Regions from separate parts of the Homo sapiens genome. Here region 2 is linked to region 1. Evidence: promoter capture Hi-C in human tissues and cell types (Jung and others, 2019). All regions are on one chromosome and are shown on one strand. The core of a region is centred on a gene start or on the middle of the fragment in contact, and the rest is flanking DNA. Distances in the headings are between cores, read along the strand shown.

The links. The method cuts DNA at HindIII sites, captures the fragments that hold promoters and counts their contacts. A contact is called where the count stands out against the background at its distance.
Region 2: a fragment that was not itself captured here is called in contact with the fragment with the promoter of NLGN1 in region 1 in 1 of the 25 tissues and cell types used here (dorsolateral prefrontal cortex).

The regions. Positions count from the first base shown.
Region 1 is chr3:173,393,674-173,400,551 of GRCh38, forward strand. NLGN1 (neuroligin 1) reads left to right here and starts at 4,071. Exons shown (of 7, transcript NM_001365925.2): 1 at 4,071-4,390. RefSeq lists silencers at 1,925-2,004, 2,025-2,114 and an enhancer at 2,340-2,839. The HindIII fragment of the contact is 5,603 bases long and covers 857-6,459 here.
Region 2 is chr3:173,574,171-173,581,048 of GRCh38, forward strand. All of the region lies in intron 1 of NLGN1 (neuroligin 1), which reads left to right. Among named protein-coding and RNA genes, the nearest start is that of NLGN1, 180 kb to the left of the region's middle. The HindIII fragment of the contact is 4,311 bases long and covers 1,391-5,701 here.

The sequences.
Region 1 (6,878 bases), core at 2,821-5,320:
AATTTGTGTGCCAAGTGCTTTACATGCATTATTTTGGATAATCCTTACAACAATTCTACAAGGTAGGGAGCATAATTATCTCCATCTTGCAGTGGTGAAATTCGAAGTTTAAGGAGATTAAGTGACATGCACCGGGCAATAACAATTTGTCAATCCAGGATTCAAACTCAGGCAATCTGATTCGAGAGTCCCAGCCCTTAACTACATACCAACAAAAGAAAAAGTAAAAAACAAAACTTCTTGCTATGTAATTGCTTTTGAGATCAAATGGTAGGGGATGGGTTTATTTCCTTAAGAGGGTTTGATTGGTATAGTGGGAAAAAAATGAGCAAGGAGGTTTGGCTCATTCGTCTGTATTTACAGATTGTGATAAATGCTGTTTGTGTAACAATTCATTTTGTTAAAATGCTTAGGCTTTTTGTAAAACTAACTCACAGGAATGAGGTAATAATGGCCAACTGATAAAGTGTAGCCATGAAAATAATGAAAAGAACCCACAATAGAACCTATTTAAAATTAATCTCGTACTATAAATACCAAATATTGGAAGTGAAAAATGCTTAGTTATTACCATTAGGATTCTGATATTAACCTCAGCAAATATAGTTAGGAAGTGGTGCCCACAGCCTTGGGATACAAGAGAGTATATAAAACATTATGTTATGTAAATTATAATGGAGAACTTTATAGAATCATCCTTATTTCTTTTTTATTCTTCGCTTGTCAAAATCATATCCTATATCAAGTTAGGTTAACGATGTAATCTCATGAAAATTAACAGGACCCATTTAGGTACTTTCACAAATATTGAAATAGATACTTATTTCTCAACTTTCTTAGGAAATTCCAGACAAATTTCAAAGGGTTTAGGTTGTCAAATTAGACAAACTTGTGCAAGTTGGGCATGGTACACCTGTTACCAAGAATCAGATGCATGTTTTAGTAGAAAGAAACTTCACTTTCTTGGGAGCATTACCGAAATCTGCTGGATTTGTCAACATATAGCCTAAAATTTACTTTTAAAAAAAGAAAAACATGACAAGATAGACTGGATTCTAAAACGACATCAAGACAATGTGGTACTGAATTTCCTCTAAGCCAAAGGAACATGTCATATTTAAGACTGTTTTTTTAAAAATCAGAGCGGAAATGGTAGAACCTTGGTTTCTTACTTACTGTTATTAATTAATGAGTGAGTGATAGGGGCCATTGCAGTGTAAATGTTAAAGTTCCTTTCTTTTACTTGAATTGTGGAGATTAAAGCATACATGAGATTGAGAAATATGAAGCAAGCTCTTAAATGGTGAGAAAAAACATATCTCTAGTTCACGTGTCACTTCTAGCGATTTTTCTACTGCTAGGTTTTCCTTTTGGGGTTACGATTATTACAGGTGGCAATCAGTTAACTTAGTGGTTCTGTAGGCACCGCCCTATCTTCCAACTTACTTACATTTAAAAATTCACACAGAGAGGCTAGTGGGAAGCGGGTAGGTGTAAACAATGTGCTACAGTGAGTCACACCCGTCACAAAAGCCAACAATGATTAGCTGTGATTTTTTTAAAATCACCTATCCAGCGGCAGAAGCTGTGGGCACAGCCAGGAGGAAGAGGCCAAAGGCAGTGGCGTTGCGTTCACACTACTCGCACGGAACAGTCTACAGCCAACGAACGCTTCAATTCAGAGATTACTCTGCCTCTAGCTAGAGGAAGCAGAGGAAAGAGAGGGGAGTTTGGTGGCTAGAGATTTACCAAAAAGAGGGGGGCGGGGGAAAGAAGAGGCACAGTGGAAGGCTGTTGCCTCCAACTCCGCGCTCTCCGTCACCAAGACGAAAACGCCTGGAACCGGAGCACGATGACGCCGAGAAGACAGAAACTCAGAGCGTCCGACGCCTCGCGTCTGGGCGGTCGTGCCCGTTCACTCACACGCCGCTCTGAGTGGTTTGGCGAACCTCACACGTGACTCCCTGGGCCCTTCACCCCTCCTGCCGCCGCGGGCGCTGCGGAAGCTGCGGGCGGAGGACGCTCGGCTGCCGCGGGAGGAGTAAGGGAGGAGGGCGGAACTTGTAAAGGGAGGGGCCATCACCAGCACCAAGTCTGCCACCGCCGGACCCGCGCCCCCGAAGCCCACCCCCACCAAGATCGCGCCTCCGACCGGCGGGAGGGGCGCGCAGGGGAGGGGACGCTGTGCAATAAACCGGGCGGGGAGAGGGAGGCAGCGGAGGGAGTCCTGGCTCTGAGGGGGGCAGGATTGGGTCTGGAGGATGGTCTGGCTTGATTCAGACTCCTGCACCCGACAACGCCACGGAGTGAGGGGAGAGGGAGAGAGAGAAGGTGGCAGTGTGTGTGCGCGCGTGTACGTGTGTGTGTGCGTGTCTACAGGTAGCAGTGGCGGCGGCGGCGGCGGCGGCGGGGACCGGAGCAGGGGACGCATCTGCAGCCACCTCCCCGCCTATGATTTTCGGAGGCGATTGCTCACTTAGCTGAGGATCTGTAGCCCCGGGAGATCTTCTCATCCTCTCCATTTCCAAGCTTCATAGGTGTCTTCCAGTTTCAAGTGTGTGTTTTGGGTATTTTATTTTTAATTTTTTTCCTTCTCCCTCTAAATCTTCTCGGAAATTCTGCATATTGAAGCAGGTGGCTCCTGGTACGAAATCTCTGGATACATTTGGCTTGCCAAGTTTTGCTCTTCGCTGTCCCCTCCCGTTTACAGAAGCATCTGTGGTGCTTTTCATTTTGGATTTACATGCAGGAAACGTATATATGTTTATATACCGACCGCATAATATATAAATACATATACGCGTGCCCAAGGGCCTGGTTTTCGTCTCTCCTCCCCACGAAACGGAATGTTTTGGAGCCGATGGATAACAAGAACACTATTAACATTCTTTTGAGCCTGTTTTTTAAAAGGGGGAGGGAGCGTGAAGAATTGTTTAACATTTGGCCATCGTTTGGCTGCACACTAAGCACCACGAAGTATTTATGGTTGCAGATCAGGTGCAAACGGGGCTTAGAGAGAAAGGTAAGGGAGCTTCCTGCGTCCGCCGAGCTCCGGCGTTTACCTTAATCCCGGGGATTGCCGAGAACTTCCTATTCCCTGCCTCTCCTTCGCCTTCCCCACCTTCCACCCACCCTTCTCTGCTCTCTCTCTTCTGTAAACTCAACCCTTTTCCAATCCCATTGGGGTGGGGGTGGGGGGTGCTGGAGGTATAATCGTCTATTTGAGTTTAAATGCGTCTCTCTTTCCCAGGCTAGTAGCTGAGTTTTCCAATAGCCTTTCTGGCGGTTTTAGGAAATCGTGTCCTTTATAAAAAATAATGCTACCTAAATAAGTGTTTTAAACATCTGAAGATGCCAGTCCCTCACCCTATCCTCTGATGAAAATAAAAGCAATAAAAAATAATGAACTTTAATAAACTGGGTGGTTTTTTTTAAGCGTTGGGGTTCATGGAAGCTCCCAAACGCTTTTTTTCATTTAAAAAGAAAGATAACCAGCAAACAAACCAATCTCAGGAGGAGTCCACAGTGGAGGAGATTCGCCTTCCGTTTCTGCATAAAACCAATACATTTTACTTGGAGGGTAATTTGCCAGAGTTGAGCGAGACGAAGCCGTGTCTAAATAAGTACATGACACTAAATTTCCTTTTAAATCCACCTTTTACACCATGGCCAGTCGCTTGTTTAACTCCCGTTCAAGGGACACGGTTTTCAAACGTGACCTTTTGGGGAGATGTGGGAACTTCCCCTCATTTCTTCTTCTGTGCCGCTAACCTCTTTCCTCCTCCGCGCGGCATCTCCAGCCCCGGCAGTTTGTAAATTGCCCGTTTTGCCCACCCTCCTGGTGGGCGTTCTCTCCCCCACTCCACTCCTGCCCCCTCTGTCCTTTCTTCATTGGCGTCTTCGGAGCAGATGCATCTTCTTTCTTCTTGGCCTCACTCTCCCGTTCCCCCGTCAGTCCCCCCACCCGCGGCTCCCCACTTGCCCCAGCTCTCCTCGCCGCTCCTCCCCGCCTCCCCGCGGAGGGTTGACCCTTCAATTCGGAGTCCCGGCCTGTGGGCGGGCGGGGGAGCGCCGCGGCTGTAAGCCGAGGATCAGGCGGCGGCGCGGAGAGCGCGCCCGGGCGGCCAGCGCCGAGCGCGCGGAGCTGGCGTGGGGAGACACGGCAGGAAAGGCGAGTCGGAGTGGGTGATGAGAGGCCGGGAGAGCCCGTCCGAGCCGGAGAGACCGGAGAGAAGGGAGCGAGCGACTGTGCGGCGCTCACGCTGCCAGAGCCCGGGCGGAGTGCAGTCGCCTCCAAAGCCTTAGAGCGGCGCCCCAGTCACTGCAGCTCTTCACCCTAGAGCTGTGCCCTGGGACCACAGAGACCAAGAGCATGGAAATCGGCTGAGAGGTACAAAAGAAATAAGGAACAGATTACGAGAAAGCGGGGAGGGTTTCCTGGCGAAATACGGAGGCTGAGCAGATGGAGGAACAATGCCGCCTCCAGAAGAAAACCCTTGCCTGAACCCTCGGCGGAGCGCAGAGGAGCTGCTTTCAGCCTTCTGCTCTCCCCAGGCCCTCCGGCTAGTTCTGGGGTTGGTTCCGCCGGTTAGTTTGACAGGGATAAGAAAGTTGCTCTTCTTCCCCACAACGTTTCCTGAGAGGTGGTTTTCAGATCTGTGTGTTTCCAGTCAAGATGTCACTCCCTAGATCCCCCGCGTTGAGCAACTAATATATTATGCATTATTGGGCAATAAACTCTCCTGGGAAGAGAAGGTATTCCAAACATTTAAACCGTTCTCCACCGACTCCTGCCCGCCTCAACACAATGCCTTGTGAGTAGAAATGAAAAACCACCTGAATTTAAAATTATTTAGGTTGAGATTTTGCATTGGGAATAATTTCTTCCAGAGGAGGTTGTTAGTGTGTTATAGAGATGAGGGATATTACATGTCCAATATTTGATTCATTTGTGATAATTCTAAATCATGAACAGTTGGCCTCCACAAAGGTACTATTTCTTTTTGCATTTCCAGGGCCATAGTGATACATATAACACTTGGGAAACGTGAATTCGTATAGTTAACCCAGTATCTGTTACTCTGCATTTTTACAGGTAGTTAATATACTCATTTTCCCTCTTTTTATACTCAAACTCCGGTAGACTATTTTTGCTTAAGTCAATTGAGTTGTCATGCTGTACATGAAAATTACAGGGTCTTAATGCATTTCTCACCATTAATTGTGCTCAATTATTAATAGGATCATAGATATTAAAATGTCACTGAGAAAGGGTATGTGTACCTATGTTTGAGTGTAAAACCTATAAAATGTCTCAGCATTTCTATCAGCCATTGTAACCTAGCAGAACACAAGGTTTTTGAAATGAGCTCAGAAGCAAGGGCCATTCATATATTTAAAATATTAAATGTTAAATGCAAAAACATTAAATTTACTGTGCCTTTGGCAGAGAATGAATCTAAGTCTACTTGCACTGCAGAGTGATTGAGTGATTCACAGAGAAAGTGGAAGTTAATCATTACTCAGGCCTTCTGATTACATGGTTTGATTAAAAGAAGTAACTGTTTTCTGTAAGCCTGCTATTCTGCAGTTAGTCTTCCCAATCCTCTTAACATAAGCAGAAATTGAGGGAGTCAATCTTTCAGCAGATTCTACTAGAGTTCCAGTAGTGTGGAGTAAGAAAAGCTTCTTTAGTTCCCGTCCTTCCCATTGTCTCCCTTCTTCCACCCCCAAAGTACTTGCTGTCAATCTTTTCTTTATTCCCTCAGTATAGTTTTATTTTGTGAAATTTTCCACTTACATTTAGTAATAACATATTTTCAAATGTAAATGTTTGAATGGCTTTGAAGTTGAAGGTGAAATATACACTTAAAGAAGGTAGGCTGAGAACTCCATTGGTTTCATTTGCAGGGTGTTGGAAGGCCTGATGACCCTATGCATTCCTGGATGACTTTCTTGGATCACTCTCCAAAGTCTCTTCCAACTCTGAAATTCTTATATTTTATTCTGCTTTTACTATTTTCACATGGTTATCCAGTGCCAAGATCTACATATCCCTTCAAATTACATTAAACTAGCTGTTTCTGGTTTTCTTTATAGGATAATTAAGTAGCTAGAACTATAAAATACAGTTATAAATCTGAGATCTGAGTTTTTTATAAAATTTTTCACATACATTTTAATGCTATTGACAACTTTTTGTGAGACAATATTAATACAGATATAGCTTTGAGTGACGTATCTCTCTGGGTTTTCATGTATTGAAACAGTTTTTAACATAGTAATGGTTTATCTTGATAATTCTTTATTATTTTTACACAAAGGAGTTATTTCACAAATTACCTAACAAATACTAATTTGTAGTTTTTGTAAGCAAAACACAGTTAAAAGTAACAGTAGTATTAGAAACTGCAGCTGTGTAACATATACCTTTGCCACATTTTAAAGGCTTAGTTTTTGAAGTGAAGTTTGCAGTCGGTTTCCATCTTACTGGATTGTCAATAGGAAGATATGATTTTTCAGTTATGTTTTAATTATCTGTAAATGAAATCACCAAAGTCCAGTCTTCTAGACTTAATATTATTATTATTATTTCTGAAATATAGGTATGATCTTATTAACATTGGCCAGTGGCTCCTTATAGATTATTACATGCCAAAGTCCACAACCCTAATGCCACTCAATGCTTTTCACAATTCATTCTTAAACCTCCTTATGTAGATTAAAACACTGTCCTCCTGGCCCCCCTTCTGAATTCACTCTTTAGTCCATTCACAAGACTCTTAATTACTATTTTCCCCAACACTACATACCATTTTAGGATTTTGTGGTTTGCTTATGCTAATCTTTCTTCATTGATCCATTCCCTGCCCCTCTAC
Region 2 (6,878 bases), core at 2,296-4,795, 180 kb after region 1:
GCAGTTTAATTACCGATTTGTTTTAAATTTAGATTAATTTTGAAGTTTTTATTAAATGTGCTCTTTTTATAAGGTAAAGTTCTTTTTAAGTCAATTGAATGCTGTCAATAGAAATACCTTTTGATAACTAAAGTATAGTTGATTAATTAAATAGAAATATTTGTGTAGCAGGGAGTAACCCAAATATAAGATCTTGACTTCTGTCTTTCAATTGAGGACACAGAGAGAAAATAGATGTTAAACTTTGACTAAATTGAATTAAAATTCAATTTAAAATTTTATATTTAAATAATTTAAATTAAACTCTTTATTAGTAAGTAATTTTTAAAGCATCATTGAAAATACTAATTCCAAAACAGTTGATGGTTTTAAATAATTTATTTAAAGTCTGTAATCTAAGGCAGGCACCTTACTAAAGTCTCATTCCTATTTCCCATGAAACTAACATACTTAATGGACAAGCCCAATTACAAAACAAATTCCTTTAGGAATTTTATGACTCAAAAAAGGAATAGAGAAGATAACATGAGAGAACATATATTGAATACTACAGTAGAATGATTGTTCAACTTTTAAGGGATTTATTCAACTACACCATCATTTAGCCCATATGTCACAGTTTTGTTCACAAGAAAACTAGGGGTGACTTTTGTAAAAGCCCTTGGATGCAGTTAAGATAAACTATGCAAATGACACATTTGATCTGCCACTCCAATAATTATTTAAAAAACACAGACAGGATCTCACTCTGTCACCTAGGCTAGAGTGCAGTGGCACAATCATGGCTCACTACAGCCTCCAACTCCTGGGCTTGAGTGATCCTCCCGCCTCAGTCTCTCAAGTTGCTAGAACCACAGTCTCATGCCACCATGCCGGGCTATTTTTTAAAAAATTTGCATAGAGACAGAGTCTCACTGTGTTGCCAAAGCTGGTCTCAAATTCCTGGCTTCAAAGGCCTTGGCCTCCCAAAGCCCTAGGATTGCAGGTGTGAGCCACTGCACCCAGCTCCAGTAATTCTAAAAATAAAAAATAAAAAATAAAAAAATAAAAAAAAATTATGGTGACTTTACACTTAGCAAACACATATGAGCATCAGTTTTAGAATTTCAGTTAATGTCAAGATTGGTAAACTTCAGTTTATGGAATCTTGTTTGAAAACCAGGACAGTTAATTTTCATGGCACTTTTTCATGGTGACTTAAAAATAATAGATATTAGTTCCAAGAACACTTCTTCACGTACTTTTGGTATTCTAAATTAGGTAACAAATTTGGACCTGAAATCTTAAAACAAATTTAAGTTACCTTCAGGCATTCTTATTTCTTCACCATCATATTCTTTTCCAGTTCAAACACCATTCTTCCCTATGAAGCAATTGGAGCTGAGATTTAATAGTTTTGCTTTTCTCTTGGTCATTTGTTCATATTATATAGTTGGCTCCAAGCAATCTTATTCTGATCCCATCCTTGGCTGTCATTTTCTTCTAAAAATACCACATAAATTTCTTTCTATTATTGCTGGCATTTTTACAAACGTCAGTCAACTCAGTATCAGTATCATTAGGTAATCATACTCTTCTTTCATGTTGTTTTTAAGTTTCGTTTCTTTTCAGATCTTTCTTTTTAAATATAATTCTCAAATACAAAGTTTTCAGAAACTTGCCTGTAAAACCATCCTGATAATTTGTAGAAGCCTTTGTGATCCTTTATCTAGATTGTGACAGAGCTTTAGAATGATATGGAATAATATATAAAATTTTCTTTTTAACTTGTTTCTTATAATCTAAAGCTGCACTATCCTTTATGGTAGTCACTAGCCTTATGTGGCCATTGAGCTATTGAAAAGGAATTATTCCAAGTTGAGATGTACTCTAAATATAATATACACATTGGATTTTGAATATATTTATATGGAAGCAATTAAATTTCTCAATAATAGTCTTTCATATTGATTATATGTTGAAGTGATAATATTTTGACATATTGGGCTACATATAATACAGTATTAAATTTAATTTAACTTGATTCTTCATTTTTTAATGTGGATGCTAGGAAATTTAAAATTTCCTGTGTGGTTCACATTATGTTTCTATGGGCAGCACTGATTATTTCCATAATATTTTTAATATCTTTAATATTTTTAAATAAGTGTATTAGTTTTCTATTGTAGCTATAACAAATTCCCACAAATTTAATGGCTAAAAACAACACAAATTTATTATCTTACAGTTTAGGATGTCAGAAACCTAAAATGATTGGCAAAGCCTGTGTTCTTTTTGGAAGTTCTAGAAAAAATTCCGTTTTCTTGCCTAGAGACCACCTGTTTTCCCTGGCTTGTAGCTCCTTCTTTCGTCTTCTAAGCTAAGAGTGTAGCATCTTCAAATCTACCTGACTCTCTCTTTCTCCCTCATCTCTGTTTCTGTTATCACATCTCTTACTCTTATTCTGACCCCTGAACCCTCTGCCTTCCTCTAATAAAAACCCTTGTGATTACTTGGTACCCATCTAGATAACCCAGAGTAATCTCTCCATCTCAAGATCCTCAATTTAATCACATTTGCAAAGTCTCTTTTGCCATATAAAGTGGCATATGCACAGATTCCAGGAATTAAGACATCTGTGGCGGGGGAGGGTGGTGGAGGGTATTATTCCAATTACCGTATTAAGTATATTTAATGCTATTCTTTCTTGATTTGTTAATTTCAATTTTTAAATTTTGCTTGTGGTCCAATATTTTAAGATCAACGAAACGGTAATACCAAAAAACAATCATAAGAAACATCGAGTCAGGTGTGGCATGGCACAACAGCTTCTCATCTGGGCGATGCTGCTGACCTCAACGTGATCTTAGTTAAGTCATTTATCTTCTTGTGCTTTTTTCTGTTTAGCAAAAGGAGTCTGTGAGTCTATGAAGGAACTTTAAAACTGCAGTTCTTTGGGCCACTGTTCAAATATACTGTAGTTGTTTTAATGATTAGTTTGAGTCCTTGTATGATGAATTTCAGCTATAAGATATATCTTCTAGCTTCACCAGACTTATGAATGATGAGGATGTGAATTGTGAGTTGGTTTAATGTATTACACATAAGCCAAGAATTATATTCTCATTCTATCAAATAATGAGTATACTTTCTGTTATCACATAAACCATCTATCCTCATAGTCTATTTTGTGATGTAACAAATCATGCTTTGAACTTTCTTCACATTGCCTTTTCTGCTTCATCTATGTAAACAACTATGTCTGAAATATTACCATGTCCTGCTTTCCTTCTCTCCCTTCCTCCTAGTACAATTTATAAATAAAGGGTCAAAATTTAATTGTTTTCTTTTGTAACAAATCCACCATTTGTTAGCTTGTTTATCACTAGGGAAGGTTTGGGAAACTTTTATAGAAGAGGACACAAGAAAAGGCTGAGAGTCATGAATTTTATGATGGTTGGAAGGTTGAACAATTTCTTATGCATTGAATGTAACATAGTTTTGTCATTCTGTTTAACTAAATCATTCTGCTTGTTTCTAGGTCATCAGAAATAATTTTATTCACATACAAGCAAAAACAAACTCTAAAACCAAACACACATGATCTTAGAAAAATATATCATCTTTGAAAAACTTGTGACATATTTTCTCAGTTTCTTGTAAGTAATCAAAGCTTAAAGGGACAGATTAATGTGTAGATAGATAGGTGATAGATGGATAGATAGACAGATATATAGACAGATAGATAGAGACAGAGAGACAAGAAGACAGAGAAATAACCATTCCTTTAGAAGATGTCATTTTAGGCCGGATGCGGTCGCTCACGCCTGTAATCCCAGCACTTTGGGAGGCTGAGGCAGGTGGATCACGAGGTCAGGAGATCAATACCATCCTGGCTAACATTGTGAAACCCTGCCTCTGCTAAAAATACAAAAAATTAGCTGGGCGTGGTGGCAGGCACCTGTAGTCCCAGCTACTCGGGAGGCTGAGGCAGGAGAATGGCATGAACCCGGGAGGCGGAGTTTGCAGTGAGCTGAGATCGCACCACTGCACTCCAGCCTGGGCGACAGGGCCAGACTCCGTCTCAAAAAAAAAAAAAAGAAGAAGAAGATGTAATTTTAAGGGTTCCTTTATTTAATATTTTGGAAATCATGGAACTAAATATTTTGGGACAGGTAGAAGATGCTCATTAAGTTGCTAATTGAACAATAATGAAAATTCAGGCTAGTGTTTACTTTTAATTATGTAATTAGCATAAAATCCTATCCAAAAAAAGAGTACCCAACTCTTGTCTGTGAAGTCAATGAGATGTCAATACCACTGGGATATAACTAAAAATTTCTCTTTCCATCTCGAACTATAGAACATTAATTTTCATGTGGTTTCCCATCCTATTAGGTCAAACTTTATAGTATATTCTGCTAATACTGGAAACATAGACTCAAATAAACTAATATTTTACAATAAGCATTAATAGATGATATTTAATAAGATGGTTTCCTGATTGTGTTTTTTCAGTACTTAAGAAACATCTAAGATAATTTTATACAATTTAACTCATTCTATACTACATTGCAATGTCAAAATCAATCATGGTACTATGGAATTAAAAGCCACCAAAATATCAAGAGAACCTGCTCTGAGGTTATTAGAGGGTCAGCGTAAATACTGCCTCACAAATGTACTTACATTCAAAAATGAAGAAAATATTCTGCAAAATAATGCATCATGCTATTATTAGCTAAAACATTTGAAATTGGAAATTTCTATATTTTTCAATTTTACCAATTAAATAAATGTATAAATTATAGATGTAAAAAAGACCTTTTTCTAAAAGAAAACAGAATCTTAATTATTAGCCTAATGGCACCATTATTTGAAAGTTTTTAACAAGTCAGAATTATTCAAGTCTGTTTTGAAAATCTGGATTTATTTCTGATTTAAACCCTTTTAAGAGTCCCTCTGTAAATATCTTTTAGCATCTCTAACCAACATTGATGAAAAAGCCCCATTTCAAAAGTGGCAGTCTCATGCTAAAATATCTAGTCTTGGGTAGTCGCAGTGGCTATGCCTGTAATCCCAGCACAGCCAAGGTGGGCAGATTGCTTGGGCTCGGAAGTTCAAGGCTAGCCTGGGCAACATAGTGAATCCTTGTCTCTAGAAAAAAATACAAAAATTAGCCTGATGTGATGGCATGGCGCCGGTATTCTCAGCTACTCAGGAGGCTGACATGGGAGGATCACCTGAGCCCGGGGAGTTTGAGGCCGCAGTGAGCCATGATCGTGCCTCTGCACTCCAGCCTGGGCAAGACAGTGAGACCAGGTCTCAAGATAAATAAACAAACAAACAAAATGTCTAGTCTTGATCATCACTTCCTTAGTTTCCATTACCAATCTCTATTCCATGAAATATAAAGATACATCTGGTATATTTAGCATCCAGGCAGGTGTGTTCTCCCAATACGTATCTGAAATATAGTCAGTACCAGTCAAGCATTTTAAGTAGTCTTTTCTAATTAAGCAGGATTGTGGGAGTAGATTCTTCCCCGTAGAAAGAACCTCTTTGTAAACAGTCACCTTTGCAGTAGTTAGAACTTACAATGTTGCACCACTTTTTATTTTTGTTTCTTTCATAATTCCCAATTGCCATTCATTTAGATTCAAGTCTTGAGCACTTAATATGAGGTTACATCAGGGGAGTTCTGAAGATGGTAGAGGATTTTTTTTTCTCCAGACTTGCTTTACAATTCTGTTTTATTTTATTTCTAGCTTCAGAATTTTTAAAATTATTTTTAAAAAATTGTTGTGGGTATATAGTAGGTATATATGTTTATGGGGTACATGAAATATTTCGGTTATTTCTTCTTTTTCAGACACTGAGCTGCTATCTTTCACAACATCCTAAAACGTTTATCACAAGCCAGAGCTGAATTGATTTGACCTGGTCATAAAAGATGTGCATTTATATGATTTTTCAAAAAAAACCCCACCTTTTCTCAAAATAACTCTTTTGTATTAAAAGCAACAATGAAATACTTACTCCTCTATTTGTTATGAAAACTATGCTGCTTCCTCACATGATCCATTTGGTATTAATCAATCCATCATTTTCTATTTGGTATAGAAACCAAAATAAGATATGTAATTCTAAGATGTTTTTTATCAGAGCTGAAATTTTAATAACACGGTTAAATTGGAATGCCCTATAGTGCTCAGGTTTACCAATCTTGGTCTTTTATTTCCATTATTATTATTCATACTAATTTTTACTTTCCTCCTGTATTGATTTCATTTTCTGAAGAAATTAGCAAGCCCATCTAATGAAGAGATTCTCTTCATTAGAGAATTTATTCTCTTCATATAGCAACTAGTTTTATTGTTTGATCTATTAAGTCAGTCATTTACTAATAATTTGTATCATGAAGGATACAAATATTAAGTATGTTTCTATCCTCTCTGTCAGTAAATCACCAGGGAGATAAATGAATTTGATTCACATTTTTATTCTCAAACACCTTTCCTCTATCCCTCCTTCTCCTTTCACTTCTCCTTTTACTCCTCTTTCTTCATTGACTACCTTACTCTGTGAACTCATTTTACACTTAAACATACTGAAAAATGAACCTTCAGTTCTATATTAATATCTAATACTTGTTCAGTATGGATGCTGAAATATTAATTGATAATAGTAATAGCCATTTGCACTCAACAAATAAATCATCAATAGGAAACTAAGGATTTGTGGTAGTTGGCTGTTTTAAAGTCAACTCTCCTATGATATACTTTGGATTATGCCCAGTATACAGGAGGTATTCAATAAGTGTTTGCTGAAAGAATGTCAGCCTCTCCAAATTTCAGAAATATAATGGTACATCTGCTTCTTCTCCCTTATCTTTCTAT